2 separate regions of the Homo sapiens genome follow, and region 2 is linked to region 1. The links are contacts of gene promoters, found by promoter capture Hi-C in human tissues and cell types (Jung and others, 2019). All regions are on one chromosome and are shown on one strand. Each heading gives the region's core, a stretch centred on a gene start or on the middle of the fragment in contact. The rest is flanking DNA. Distances are from core to core; before and after follow the strand shown.

What was found. The method cuts DNA at HindIII sites, captures the fragments that hold promoters and counts their contacts. A contact is called where the count stands out against the background at its distance.
Region 2: a contact is called between a fragment that was not itself captured here and the fragment with the promoter of CLHC1 in region 1, in 1 of the 25 tissues and cell types used here (pancreas).

Annotation. Positions count from the first base shown.
Region 1 is chr2:55,227,410-55,234,261 of GRCh38, forward strand. CLHC1 (clathrin heavy chain linker domain containing 1) reads right to left here and starts at 4,884. Exons shown (of 13, transcript NM_152385.4): 1 at 4,814-4,884; 2 at 623-795. It overlaps RPS27A (ribosomal protein S27a), which reads left to right and starts at 5,279. Exons shown (of 6, transcript NM_002954.6): 1 at 5,279-5,299; 2 at 5,399-5,463; 3 at 5,954-6,008; 4 at 6,710-6,795. The coding sequence starts at 5,416. RefSeq lists enhancers at 4,929-5,358, 5,379-5,558. The HindIII fragment of the contact is 6,944 bases long and covers 1-6,490 here.
Region 2 is chr2:54,595,120-54,601,971 of GRCh38, forward strand. It overlaps SPTBN1 (spectrin beta, non-erythrocytic 1), which reads left to right. Exons shown (of 36, transcript NM_003128.3): 3 at 3,973-4,124. Among named protein-coding and RNA genes, the nearest start is that of SPTBN1-AS1, 40 kb to the left of the region's middle. RefSeq lists enhancers at 976-1,345, 2,410-2,459. The HindIII fragment of the contact is 3,029 bases long and covers 2,852-5,880 here.

The DNA.
Region 1 (6,852 bases), core at 3,634-6,133:
TGGCTCACGCCTATAATCCCAGCACTTTGGGAGGCCGAGGCAGGCAGATCACGAGATCAGGAGTTCAAGACCAGTCTGACCAACATGGTGAAACCACATCTCTACTAAAAATACAAAAATTAGCTGGGAGTGGTGGCACACGCCTATAATCCCAGCTACTCAGGAGGCTGAGGCAGGAGAATCACTTGAACCCAGGAGGTGGAGGTTGCAGTGAGCCGAGATTGAGCCACTGCACTCCAGCCTGGGCAATAGAGCAAGACTCCATCTCAAAAAAAAAAAAAAAGTAAAAGATAAAAGTCAAAAGAGGAAGAAACGGGTGTTATCATTAGAGAGGGGGTAGTGACATTTGGACACCAGTGGCTTCCTACCGTATTACCCTTAGGATAAAATCCAAGTTCCTTTACTTGGCCTATTAGTGCCCTTCAGAAACTAATGACTCTTTTTCTTTGACCAAATTTACTCTCTTCATGTCCCTGTCCTTTGCCCCATATCCCCATTCCCACACCCATGAACTTCCTCTCTTACCTTAGGATCTTACATAATTCTCTCCCCCTCCCTGCAGACCATCCTCCTATATTACCCCCAACCCCCAAAACACATACATACTATCACTTTGATTCACCTGGCTTTTACTCTTTCTTCAGCTTCAGGAAAGCTGTCCTGGATTCCCTTAAAATTGGTCAGATGCCACTGCTATGTTCTCCCATAATACTGTGCACTTCCTCCATCATGGTATTATCCTTCCACCACACTGCCTTAGAGACTTCCTGTTTATATTCTGTCTCATCTGTTAGGCTGTAAGCGTGACAAGATCAGGAAACAAAATGTTCTCTTTCCCCATCATCCCTCCTCTACCATATGCATTCAAGTGCATAATGCAGTTTCTAGCAGAGCAGTACTCAAACATATGTTTGCTGAATAATCAATAATCACTGAACAATAATCTAGTCTATTCATAAGACATTGGACTTGTGGTGCTCTCAAACCAGAACACAGCTAAAGGGATTGTTCCTTAACATCTACAAAATGCCATTGAGTTACATAAACCAACCAAGATTACCATTCATTCATTCATTCATTCATATTAGACATTTAGGGATGTGTTGACAAGTCACAAGGGTTCCCAGTCAAGTGTTCCAGGTCTAGTAAATGAGCCACTGCTACAAAGCAGAAAAGGCAGTGTGACAGAGGTAAGCACAATAGGCTACAGAAGGCCAGAGGGGCATCTCATCAGCCTACGGAAGGGGGCAAGGAAACATTAGGGAAAACATCTAGTAAAACAAAATCTAGGGCAATGCTTAAGTTGTGCTACATTTATTTATTCAATATTTGGGGGACACCTATTGTTTGTCTGCCATTATTCTAGACAATGGAGACACAGTATTGAACAAAACAAAGTCCCTAATCTCACAAAGGTTACATTCATGTAGAAACAGACAACACACAAGAAAAAAAATAGTCCAGGCACAGCGGCTCATGCCTGTAATCCCAGCACTTTGGAAAGCCGAGGCAGGTGGATCACTTGAGGTTAGGAGTTTGAGATCAGTCTGGCCAACATGGCAAAACCCAGTCTCTATTAAAGAATATAAAAATTAGCTGGGCGCAGGGGCTCACACCTATAATCCCAGCTACTTAGGTGGCTGAGGTATGAGAATCATTTGGACCAGAGAGGTGGAGGTTGCAGTGGGCTAAGATCATACCACTGCAATCCAGCCTGGGCGACAGAGGGAGATTCTGTCTCAAAAAAAAAAAAAAAAAAAGAAAGAAAAAAATTATATATATATAGAAATATAGTATGACAGATAGGGGTTAAGTTGTATGAAGAAAAATAAAACAAGGTATGGGGGATAGAGAGTAAGGAAGGTGGGAGGATACCATTTTCTATAAGGGCAGTAAGTCAGGAAAGACAAAAGAGCTTACTGATAAGGTGACATTTCAGAAATCTGAAAATAGCAGGTCATGTAGATTCCTGGGAGATGAGTGGTTGAGGCAAAGAGAGTAGCCAGTCCAAAGGCCTCAGGGTGGGACAACACATTTGAGGAACAGCTAGAGGGCCCGTGGGGCTAGAAGAGAATGAGAAAGGGAGAGAAGAGATGAGATCAGAGAGGTAACTGCCAGATTATGTAGCATGTAGGGTCTTGAGGGCAGAACTACTATCAGCCTAGGGGGTACCTTTGTGCGGTTTAGAAAAAGAGGTCCCTTTCTCTGGGCAGACTTGGCAAGAGGAGCAACACTGGACTGTGGCCTCTACTTGTTCCAGCACTGGAGCAACAGCCTCACTTGTAAGAATTTAGGCTTTCCTCTGAGTGAGATTCGAAGCCTTTAGAGGCCTGTGTGCAGAAGAGTGGGAGAGCTGACTTAACATTTTAAAGAATTGTTCTTGGCCAGGCATGGTGGCTCATGCCTGTAATCCCAGCACTCTGGGAGGCCAAGGCGGGCAGATCACCTGACGTCGGGAGTTCCAGACCAGCCTGACCAACATGGAAAAACCCTGTCTCTGCTAAAAATACAAAATTAGCTGGGCGTGGTGGCGCATGCCTGTAATCCCAGCTACTGGAGAGGCTGAGGCAGGAGAATCACCTAACCCGGGAAGCAGAGTTTGCGGTGAGCCAAGATTGTGCCATTGCACTCCAGCCTGGGCAACAACAGCGAAACTCCATCTCAAAAAAAAGAAAAAAAAGAATTGTTCTTGTTGCTCTGTGGAAAACAGATTATAGGACGCAAGGGTCAAAGCTGGAAGTGCTGTTACGAAGCTACTGCAATAATCAAGGCAAAAGATGATGGTGGCTTGAATCAGGGTGCTAACAATGGAGGTGGTAGGAAGTGTTCTGCATATATTTTGAAAATAAAGCCAAGATCTGCCAAGGTAGATAAGATGTGGGATATAAAAGAACAGTCAAGGATAATCATAAAGTTTTTGGCCTTAGTGACTGGAGAAATGGGAATTGCCATATATAAACATGGGAAGAGCAATTTCATGAGATTAAGTGTTTGGGGCCTGTCCATTAGAGATGTTGAGTAGATAGCTGGATATGTGAAGATGAAGTTGTGACATATCTGTGACATATCTGGTCTGACAGATAAGTTTATGAGTCATTTGCATATGATGATACTTTAAAAGTTATTAAACAAAAATGAGATAACCAAGAAAATGCAGACAAAGCAGAGGTCCAAGGACTGGGCCTTGGGGATACTCCATGGTTAGAGGTCTTGCAGATCAAGAGGAAGCAGCAAATGAGCCTGGAAAAGAGCCTCCAGGGTGGCAGAAAAACTGAGAGGTGAAGTCTTTGAAAGGTTTTCAAAGAGAGATGGAATGAGCAACTGTGTCAAATACTGCTGACAGATCAAATAAGATGAAATGACCATTGAATTTAGCAACATGGAGGTCATTAGTGACCATTACAAGAGCTATCCGATCAGAATGGTGGGGACAAAAGCCTGACAGGAGTGGGTTCAGACAACGGAAGGGAAAGATTAGAGACAATATGTACAAGCAACTCTAGGAAATTTTGTTGTAGAGACTAGTTGGCGGACTAGGGGATGAAAAATGTTCCAGGAGGCAGGGCGTGGTGGCTCACGCCTGTAATCTCACCACTTTGGGAGGCCAAGGAGGATGGATCATTTGAGGTCAGGAGCTAGAGAACAGCCTGGCCAACATGGTGAAACCCCATCTCTACTAAAAATACAAAAATTAGCCGGGTGTGGTGGTGGGCGCCTGTAATCCCAGCTACTCGGGAGGCTGAGGCAGAAGAATTGCTTGAACCTGGGAGGCGGAGTTTACAGTGAGCCGAGACCGCGCCACTGCACTCCAGCCTGGGCAACAGAGCGAAATTCCGTCTCACGAAAAAAAAAAAAAAAAGTTCCAGGAAGAATAAACGACTGGATTCTTCAGAAATGCCAAAACACGGGAGGGCATAGGTCAGGAAATTAAATTAGCTTCATTTACTAAAATGTAGAGTAATGGGTTTAGCAGATTAGGTTGTAAGGAAGGCAGAGGCTGAATGTCATTCTAAGAAATTTGAATTGTATCCTGAAGGTGAGGTATAAAATAATAACACACATTTACCTTTCAGAATGAATATTTTGGAGGCAATAGTGAAGGTGGGTTAGAAAGGAGGAAAGACTGGAGAGAGATAAGGAGTTAGATTCGGAACCCCTACAAGAGAAAATTAAGGTCTGAATTTGGGGATGGGGTCGCAGAGGGCAGAGGATGAAGAAATAAATACAGAAGACATTAGAAAGGACTCTGGTTTGTGGAGTGGAGAAAGGACAGGGAGAACTTGCTTCTAATTGGCCTCCTTGCCGGAAGAAGCACCCCATACATACTCCAAAAACTTCCTCTCAGATCCAAGACTCCCAATGCCCAAATTTGGAAATTCTACAACTAAATAACCATTCTGCAGGTTTCTTTTCCGTACGGCTTCACTTTAAAATTTGAAAACTCCTGAGATTTTTCAACATATTAAAGCGTGTCACACTAAGGAGTGACACACAAGACCCAGACTCTTCCCTAGGCTGGGAGAGACTCGGCGGTTGAAAGCAGGGAGGCGCTACAGGAGAGAAAGGGCTGAACCCCCGCTTCCGCAGATTTCACCTATTTTTCAGTTTGCCTGGAGCAGGCCACGCAAATTCCCTTCCCTTGAAGGCCCAAGGAGCGTCTGGTAGATTGCTGATTCTCTGCCCATCACCGCTTCTGGAAGTGAGTGAAGGACACCTTTCGTGCCCCGCACCCTTTGCCCCCCGCTTAACATTTGCTCTAGTCACTTCCGGCCCGTTCCCACGCTCCGGAAACCATTATTCCGCTTCATCCTACCTCCAGTCCTCACCTGAGTCCTTTTCTCCAAACACCGACTTCAGTGCTTAGAGATAGTAACTAGGGAATCTGGGAGGTGGAACTGCATCTTGGGACAAGTAGTCCAAGGTAGAAGAAAGCAGTGGAGAACTACAGTTCCCAGAATGCACTTCCATTTCCTACCTCTTCCCCAAGAGGCCCCCCTCGACCTCCTTTTAAAAATTCTCTTAGCCACGTTGATTGTACGGGAAAAGCCTTTTTAAAACATCTTTTACGTTGCTTAAACCTACAGTTTCGAAAGCATTCCGAAGGCTAAAGTGAGAAATAAGCCCAGGCTAGGGAGAGGAGAAACGAAGTTCACGTCCTAGTCTGGCACCGGGTTGGATTGTCGCTGGGACGGCAGTCAGGCATTTGGTGTGGTCGCCTAAGGGGTGGGTCCTTCGGCGGGAGCTCCGGGAAACCCCGTGGGCCTGCGCGGCGTTCTTCCTTTTCGATCCGCCATCTGCGGTGGGTGTCTGCACTTCGGCTGCTCTCGGGTTAGCACCCTATGGTGCCTTCTCTTGTGATCCCTGACCTAACCTGTCTCTTCCTTTTCCTCAACCTCAGGTGGAGCCGCCACCAAAATGCAGATTTTCGTGAAAACCCTTACGGGGAAGACCATCACCCTCGAGGTACGGGCCGGGTGGTCATGAGGAAGCCAAGGTCCGAATAAGGTCCTGAGGTGGATTTTAGGACCGGCGCTGCTTTCCATGTCTTAGACCATGATTCCGAATTTGGGTTCTAAAACTTAAGCTTTGAAATGAGTACCTTTTGCTGAGCAACGACCTAGAGGTGATTTTCGGTGGCCAAAGGCTGGACCTGTCTCCTCTCGAGGGGTTCCAGCTAGTTAGTTAAAACGGAGGAGCTGCGGTGGGGAAGGAGACGCTCTGCCCGCCGGGTGCGAGCACGTGTGGCCCTGCGGCCGCCGCCCGCTCTGGGCTGGGGAGATGAAGGTGCTTTCCGGTAGCCGACTTGGGAGGTTGCCCACTGGGTGGGTAATAGGTCTCTCGAGTAGGTCTCAGCCCTGTCGCTGGTTCGGTTCAGTGGTAATTGTCAAACTAAATGAGTTCTGCTGTAGTTCCTTAATGTGTAACCAACATGCTTTCACTTTAACACTCATAGGTTGAACCCTCGGATACGATAGAAAATGTAAAGGCCAAGATCCAGGATAAGGAAGGCAAGTAGTATTTTGTAGTTAAGAAAACTTAACCTGCGGAGACTTCGGCCTACCTGTAGGTGCTAGACATACCTGCTCTTGGTGATGGGGGAAGGGGTCAGATTGACAAAGCGAAATACTTGTGGAATAACACAATAGACATTGGTGATCGGGGAGCACAGTACCTAGATTGGAATCCTTGAGGTGTATTTCACTTGCGTGAATTTGGACACTTATTTATTTATTTTGTGTGAGATGGAGTCTCCTCTGTCGCCCAGGCTGGAGTGCATTCGCTTGTCCCGGCTTACTGCAGCCTCCGCCTCCCGGGTTCAAGTGATTTTTGTGCTTCAGCCTCCCTATTAGTGGGGATTACAGGCGTGCACCACCATGCCTGGCTAATTTATTGTATTTTTAGTAGAGACTGGGTTTTACCTTGTTGGCCAGGCTGGTTTTGAACTTTTCACATCAAGTGATCTGCCCACCTCGACCTCCCAAAGTATTGGTATTACAGGTGTCAGCCACTGCAGACAACCAAGTATTGTCCCTAATATTAAATGCGGTAAAATGTGACATGTAAAGATTTAGAACCATGCCTAACCTCTAGTAAGGGCTTATTGTCAGCCTTTAGTATCATGTATTTGATTAAGGGGTGTTACCTTATAAGTCTGGAGCACATCACAGGCTTGGTGTGCTGTGACTTAATTTTTGTTTTTTGTCATTAGGAATTCCTCCTGATCAGCAGAGACTGATCTTTGCTGGCAAGCAGCTGGAAGATGGACGTACTTTGTCTGACTACAATATTCAAAAGGTCTGTCTAGGGGAAGAGCAGCCTCTTTTAAAAAAAAAATGTTATTTTGGAAATTTT
Region 2 (6,852 bases), core at 3,116-5,615, 630 kb before region 1:
CTGCACCTGGCCAATTTCTTAAATGATTTGAATTAGTGAGACTATTTCTTTGCTGGAGAAAAGACGGAACTAATTTAGAGCAGTTACAACACTCTGGGCACTTTGATGTGCACTTTACCTCCTCTTGTTTGGTGCTGGGCAGTCTTTAGATGAGTCCTTATAATACGTAAGCTTAGTAAACTGCGGGAGGGTGGGGGCAAATATAGCTGAGAGATACCCCCAGAGGGCAGGGGCACAGAAGTGCTTGTTCCTTGGAGGCACCACTTACCAAGTTTGGGGCAGGGCTGGTTGGGAACCTACTGAAAGGTTTAGCTGCGTCAGCTTCTTGGGGAGGACTTGATAACAGCGATACAAGGCCCAGAAAAGGTAAACGGAGAATGGAAATGGTGTGAGGCACAGAAGTGCCCACCTCACATCGCCCAGACCCAGCCCGCCCCAGCTCCATGCTGCTGGTGCTGCTGCTCCTCTGCCTTGCAAAGGGCGTGCCCTTGGTGGCGTGAGTGGGCCTGAAGGCCGGCCATTTCTGCTGCCTTCGAGCTGACCTGCAGGTCATCAAAGAGAATGATGAAAGAATAGCAACCCACCTTGGAGGGGTGCTCTCTGGGGAGTGTCTTCCAAGATTTCTCAACCTAGCACCGCTGATATTTTGGGCCAGATAATTGTTTGTTATGGGAGCCATCCTGTGTACCGCAGGATGTTAAGCAGCATCCTGGGCCTCTACCCTCTAAATGCCAGTAGCATCTACCCATGAATCGTGACCATCAACACTGTATGTAGACATTGCCAAACTGCTAAATGTGCCGAGGAATCAAAATTGCCCCTGCTGGAGAACCTTGGGTCTAAATAACCAAACCAGTATGGAGCTTGTAAGTGCTACCTTTTTGTACCTTTTTGTACCTTTTGTACCGTGGTTGTAAGAAGCAACCACGGTTGCTTCATGCTCATAGGCCTGGAAGTCGGCTCACTGCCCTCTGCTGCCCCAACACCTCCTCACGCAGCTAGCCCCAGTCACAGCAGCTTGAGCTTGGAAGCACTCCTGGATTGCCTTTCATCGTCAGTGCCAAGGGCCTCCTGCTCCTCCTCAGACTGTCTGGCCCATATCCCCAAGCCTTGCTGGGTGGGGAGTGCAGGGGTGATGTCATTGTGCCTTCCCAGGATAGGTGGAACAAAGGAGGGAGTCCCCAAGGACCCGAAGCCTGATCCTCTACTGAGCCACCAAATAGATTTCTTTTCCCCTCTGTCTCCCTCCTTCCAACTTCATAAGCATTTGCTGTTCTCCAAGTGCTCCATTGTAAGAGGACACGCTAGTTGACTGGGGCTTTGTGTGTCTCTGTTGAGTCCGTTTCCTGCCCCTCGTGTGTTATGAGGGTGTTGATTCTGGTCTGGTCCCCGGATGGAATCTTCTGTGTCTTTTCCAACGTGGGGGTGTGAACCTGAGGAACTTAGACCCTGCGTGATTTTTCCAGCACTCTTGCACTTCGTGGGGCCTGCTCCTGACTGTGAGGAGAGTTCGAAGGGAGGGGAACAGGAAGAGAGGGCAGGAACACAAGAGCTTGTTTTTTTATTTTTGACATCTCTTCCTCCTCTTCTTTCCTCCCACCTACTTTGAGTTTCTAAGAACCATGATAGCCCTGGGGAGCCCTCCCGGCACAGATCTCAGTCTGTTTCAGCTCTGTTCTCTGCACCCACCCATGACCTCTCCATTTGCCTCTCTGTAGGGAGGAGGGTTGGGATTGGGCTGTAACTCTTTAGGACAGGGCACTAAGGAAGTATATTGACTGTTGTTTCTGGCAAATCCTCAGAGTTTCCTTGTGAAAGAACCTGTTAATTCAAAACCTGAAAGAAGTCTGGGTGCTCCTTTAGTGAGAGATTCACCCAAAAGAGTGACAATTGGCTGAGGAACACATTTTGTGCTTGTTTATTTAGAAATATTTTAATCCAAGCAGGTTTTCATTTTGATCTTGCTCCCTTGCTTCATTAAAGACATTTTCTGACTCCAGTATAACGCATAAAGGATTTTATAATTCACAAAAAAAATTGTTAACCCTAAATACATATAAACTATGAGTTACTTGCCTCCTTGATAAGAGGCCATCTGTGAAATGCACCTTACATATTCTGCTCTAGACCTGCTCTTTCAGAATGGCCAAGCTTAGCCCCAGAATTACAGCTCCTGAGTCACTGTAGTAAAGTTGCCATCCATCACAATGATTACGTGATCAATAATGCATGTGGTCTTTTCTGTGGGACCTGTCATGATGTTATTGGTGCAGCTGCTTCTCCACTGCAGCCTGCCCCTTACTGTCTTTTTCTGCTTCCTCTAATCCTGTCCTTTTTGATCCTGTGTTTCTGGTTGGCCTTTGTCCCTGGGGAAGGGCCCTCCTTCTGTCTGGATGGGTAGGTCCTTTTTGGGAAAGGCAGGACCTCAAGGAGCCGCTGACTGTAGCAGGTGGCCGGGGATCTTGGCAGGTGCCCCAGCTGATTCTCCTGCCAGGTCGGCAGCTGTAAAACCTCAACCAATGTCATCTCTGCCTCATTCCCTCCCTGTGGTGGGTGGTGGAGTGAGTTTAGCAAAGCCTTCAGACAGACCTTCCCAGGGTGTTGGGCTGTTTGCTGTCCTTCTGGCCAACCTGAGAACCCAGTACTCTCAGGCGACTGGGCACATGCCTTATTAGCAAGGGTGGCTTTTTAGTTGTTACCCCCACCCAGTGGTTTTGAAATACATGCCAAATTGTTGAGCTATCTGCTTTTTTTTTTTTTTTTTTTTTTTGTAGATTCGTGTGTAATTATTTTTGTCATTTGGGTTTGCACTAGGAGTAGGTCTTAGATTTTTGGCATAAATTCATGCTGGTGGAACTAGATATAGTGTATGTAACATAGAGAACAGAGTCAGGGAGTAAGAGTGGTTGGGTCCAGGGTACGTTCTGTGGATGTCTGTTGAAGGTCTTCAGCAACCTATGTTTAGAACATTCTGCAGAGGCAAGAAGTTTGAAAGCCTATTTGTATGGTATGTGAAGGCCAGTTCTGGGCAAATATGTCTAGAGTTTTATACCTTAAATTGGACAGAATTTGATTACTGAGCTTTGAAAAACCTTTAACACTGTTTCCTGGATGACTTGAATGTACAACAATCACGCTTTAGACCATAAATCAGCAGTTGCCTTTTCAGCGAAGGATCACAGTATGGAGATTATATTTTTCTTCTCCTTTTATAGAAGAGAACATTGAATCCTGTGTTGAGTCACATTTTTGTTGAAACCTTGGGCCCAGACCCTGCTTTCCCGATGCCTGCAAAGACTTCCCGATGCCTGCGATGTCTTTGCACTCTACCATGTTGCTTGCCATTTTCTTTTGTTGTTCATGGTGTGTGTGACTGAGCAGGTGAAGACGGTCATTGCCAAGGTCATGAGTTAATTTATCTTGTCCAGTGTTGCCCAATCCTTTGTAGATGAGGGAAGCAGTTTTCTGCTGTCTCATGAGATTTCCTACCCTACACCCTTTAATATACTCACCTTTTGGAGGAATAATAGCTGTAACATGTATGTAGGAAGCTTTACCAGTCAAGTATTATGGTATAGGGCAGGACTGCAAAGGACCCTGTTGTCATCTGCATCCTGCTGCCTCTTCAGCAGGGATGGGAGAAAAGAAAGGGGAGCAAAGGATGTTCTGCTGGCAGTGTGCCTGGGAGCTCACATGTTTAAGGACTGGACAGTTCCTACACAGATGCTCCTTGACTTATGAGATTATATCCCAGTAAACCCATCGTAAAGTCAAAAAATTGTAAGTTGAACCATCAGTAATCAGTGTTCTTTCTCAAAGACATGACCGCAGTTAAGGGGCGCTAAGTAGAGGTGTCCTTGGAGGTCAGTTTTGCTGACCTTCCTCTGGCTGGGGTCTTGTGGCCCTGCTAGCATGTGCCTGCTCCTGCCAGTTCTGTGGTCAATGGTAAAACAAGTTCTTCTCTGCTTGCAGATGAGCGTGAAGCCGTGCAGAAGAAGACCTTCACCAAGTGGGTCAATTCCCACCTTGCCCGTGTGTCCTGCCGGATCACAGACCTGTACACTGACCTTCGAGATGGACGGATGCTCATCAAGCTGCTGGAGGTCCTCTCTGGAGAGAGGCTGGTGAGTGGAGACCTTAGGAAGTGCCGTGTGTTGTAGGTGGAAAATATTTTTGAAAAATCAAGTGTGACTTGTCTCCTGTTGAATTCTGCACTTAATGGTTGATAGTTTTGAGGAGAATCTTGAGAAGTGAGTTGAGCGCTTCAGGGAGAGCCTTAGTGTCACATTCTGAGCGTGGATGATGTTCTTGAGCTGTAATAAAGCCACTTTGTTCTGGTAATTTGCAAGGTTGCCACCTTTGGTCAGAAAGAACTTGGCTGGGGTTCCTGCCAAGAACAGGGCATGGTGCTGGAATTTGAAGGGCCAGGCTTGGGCGCTGGCTTCTAGATGAACCTGTGTCCCACATGCGATGATGGAATGTTTTCTAAATTTGTGTCTTTCTGGTTGTCTAGAAAATCTGAGCTGCCATCTTAAGGTGGCAAGCATTGAATTCAGTGGCCACTGATGTTTTCTTCCCTGCACGCTTTTTATTTTGGGAGTGGAGGGAGAAGCTGGTGTTTTGTCATCTCCTTGGGAAAGGAGCTTCTGATGAATTCACCCTGCCTTTTCAGGCAGGAAAGTTGTCAGCCTGCAATGAAAATTGTATCCCCAATCTGTTTCCCAGAGCTGCTGCGGCCCTCTCTGATGTGACTCTTGTTTATGCACCTTATACCAAAGAAGCTTAAAGCAGTCACTGTGACTGATCCAACAGGTTTTGTCTCACCTTGGTTTGAAAATGGTTGCTGTATCCTCCCAGAGCACATGTAGTGCCATAGGTGGAAGTGGTGCCGAGCCAGAAGCCAACGCCCAGAATGGAGACCACATCTGTACTGACATCACCAGGAAAATATGATGCTGGCAGTTGGCAGGGCTGCCAGAAAGCCTTATTTTTAACTTGATCTCCACCCTGTAGCTTGCCAGCCGCAGTAGGCCTGTGTGCAGACCTGCCCCACACCTCTGACCGCAGGCAAGGGTCTAAGGTTGTCCCTTGTCCTATTTGTTATCAGCTCAGAGACAGACTGCCTCTTTGAGTCTGGGTTGAAATGGAGCCAGAAAAGTATTCTCTTCCCTGCCCTTCAGTTCAAGAACAGGGCTCTCCAGAAGATAGTGAAGCCCTGTCTTCTCTGTAGTGAGTTTCATCCATGCCCTTTGTTCCTGAGCATGTAGGTCTTGTGGCCTCATTTTCTGTGAGGGTTTGTCGGTCACACTAGACAAACTAGACAAATAACGGAGACCCCTGCTCAAAACCATGATGGCTATAAGAAGGCAGTTGATTTGTGGTCTGGGGGTGAGGGAGTGGACCCACATGGGGAGTTTGAACAGGCCATTTATTGCATTTTGATTTGATTTTCCAAAGTGAGTCTTGTTTGAGAGCCTAGACTAGAATTATTGTGATATGCAGCTTTAAGTATAATTTTTATAACCAGACTTCCTTTGTCTACCTCTCAACCTTTTTTTGTTTCTTAGTGTTTAACCTAGTATGTTTATTTATTGATTTTTTTTTTTTTTTTGTGGAGTGGGGGAATGGTGTTTTGAAAGTAGCTAAAAAAAATCATTAAAGGTCACATGGATAGGAGTTAGTCTGAACATTTATTTTTGTGGTTTTTTTTTTTTAATTTATTTTTGTTCCAATAGGGTCCAATCTTCTAGGCTGTAGGGAGTAAACTGTTCACCTTTAAAGACCCATAATTATTTTATACCAAGAAGATTGTGTCCTTGATAATGTCCACATCATAAATGGGATCAGGCCCATTGCCGTTTTTTCTGAACAGGGCAAGAAAAATATAAGTAGGGAGAAAAACCAGTAAAGCATAATTCTTAGATGTGTGTGAGTATCTCCCACTCCTCTCCTTATTTGTTAGCAGTAAGTTTTTTTGTGGCAACCCAGAGACCTAGGAGAGTAAGGATGAAGAAGATGGTACAGTGGCTACCATCTCCAACCTCTTAGGCAGTCGATATCAGTAGTTTTACAGAACTTTGTAAAGCCCCTAGTGCCTTCATTTGTATTACCCATTCTTCACAGCCATCTTGGATTATATAGGTTGGCCAGTCTAATTTTCTTATTCCAAAAATAAAGATACCATAGATAGAGTGCTCTTAAAGCTCTTGTTCATCTGGGCTGGAGATTTTAAGTCTCTTTGGCCTCGTAGTCTGTTTGGTTCATGGAACTTCCTGGAAAGGAAACACACCACACACTGCCTTTGGCCGTGGAGGTTGCCAGGACCTCAAGTTAAAGATCCTCCCTGCAGAAGACCTCCATGAGAGCTTGCCCCAAAGGTTCCTTGCATATTCAGATTCCAGAACTAATGAGGTGGTTAGAGCTTCCAGGCCTGGGTAAATGAATGTCCCAGCTAAGTGTGTCATCAGATAACATTAGCTGGGCTTTCTGCACCAGTGGTCCAAAACCCTGGGTAACATAAATGTTTGCACTCTATCTGGAGCCCAGTCTTTGTCAGCCAGCATTTTAGCCCCAGCACTTAACCACCAGCTTGGCAATAGCTAGCAGATAAATGTTTGAGGGACTAGGTGATTCAATTTACTTAATTAATAGATTCTTAGAGCCACTTCCTTTACAGAGGAGGAAATCTGTGAATGTGTGCATGTGTGTTTTCTGAGTAAAGTTCAAAGAAACATTAATGACCCAGACAATTCCACCCTCACCCCACCCTGGATTTTGGCTCAATAATATTTGAGTTAAATATGAGCAAGTATCATGTAGGCATTTGGGAACTTGATTTTGAACTACTCAGCA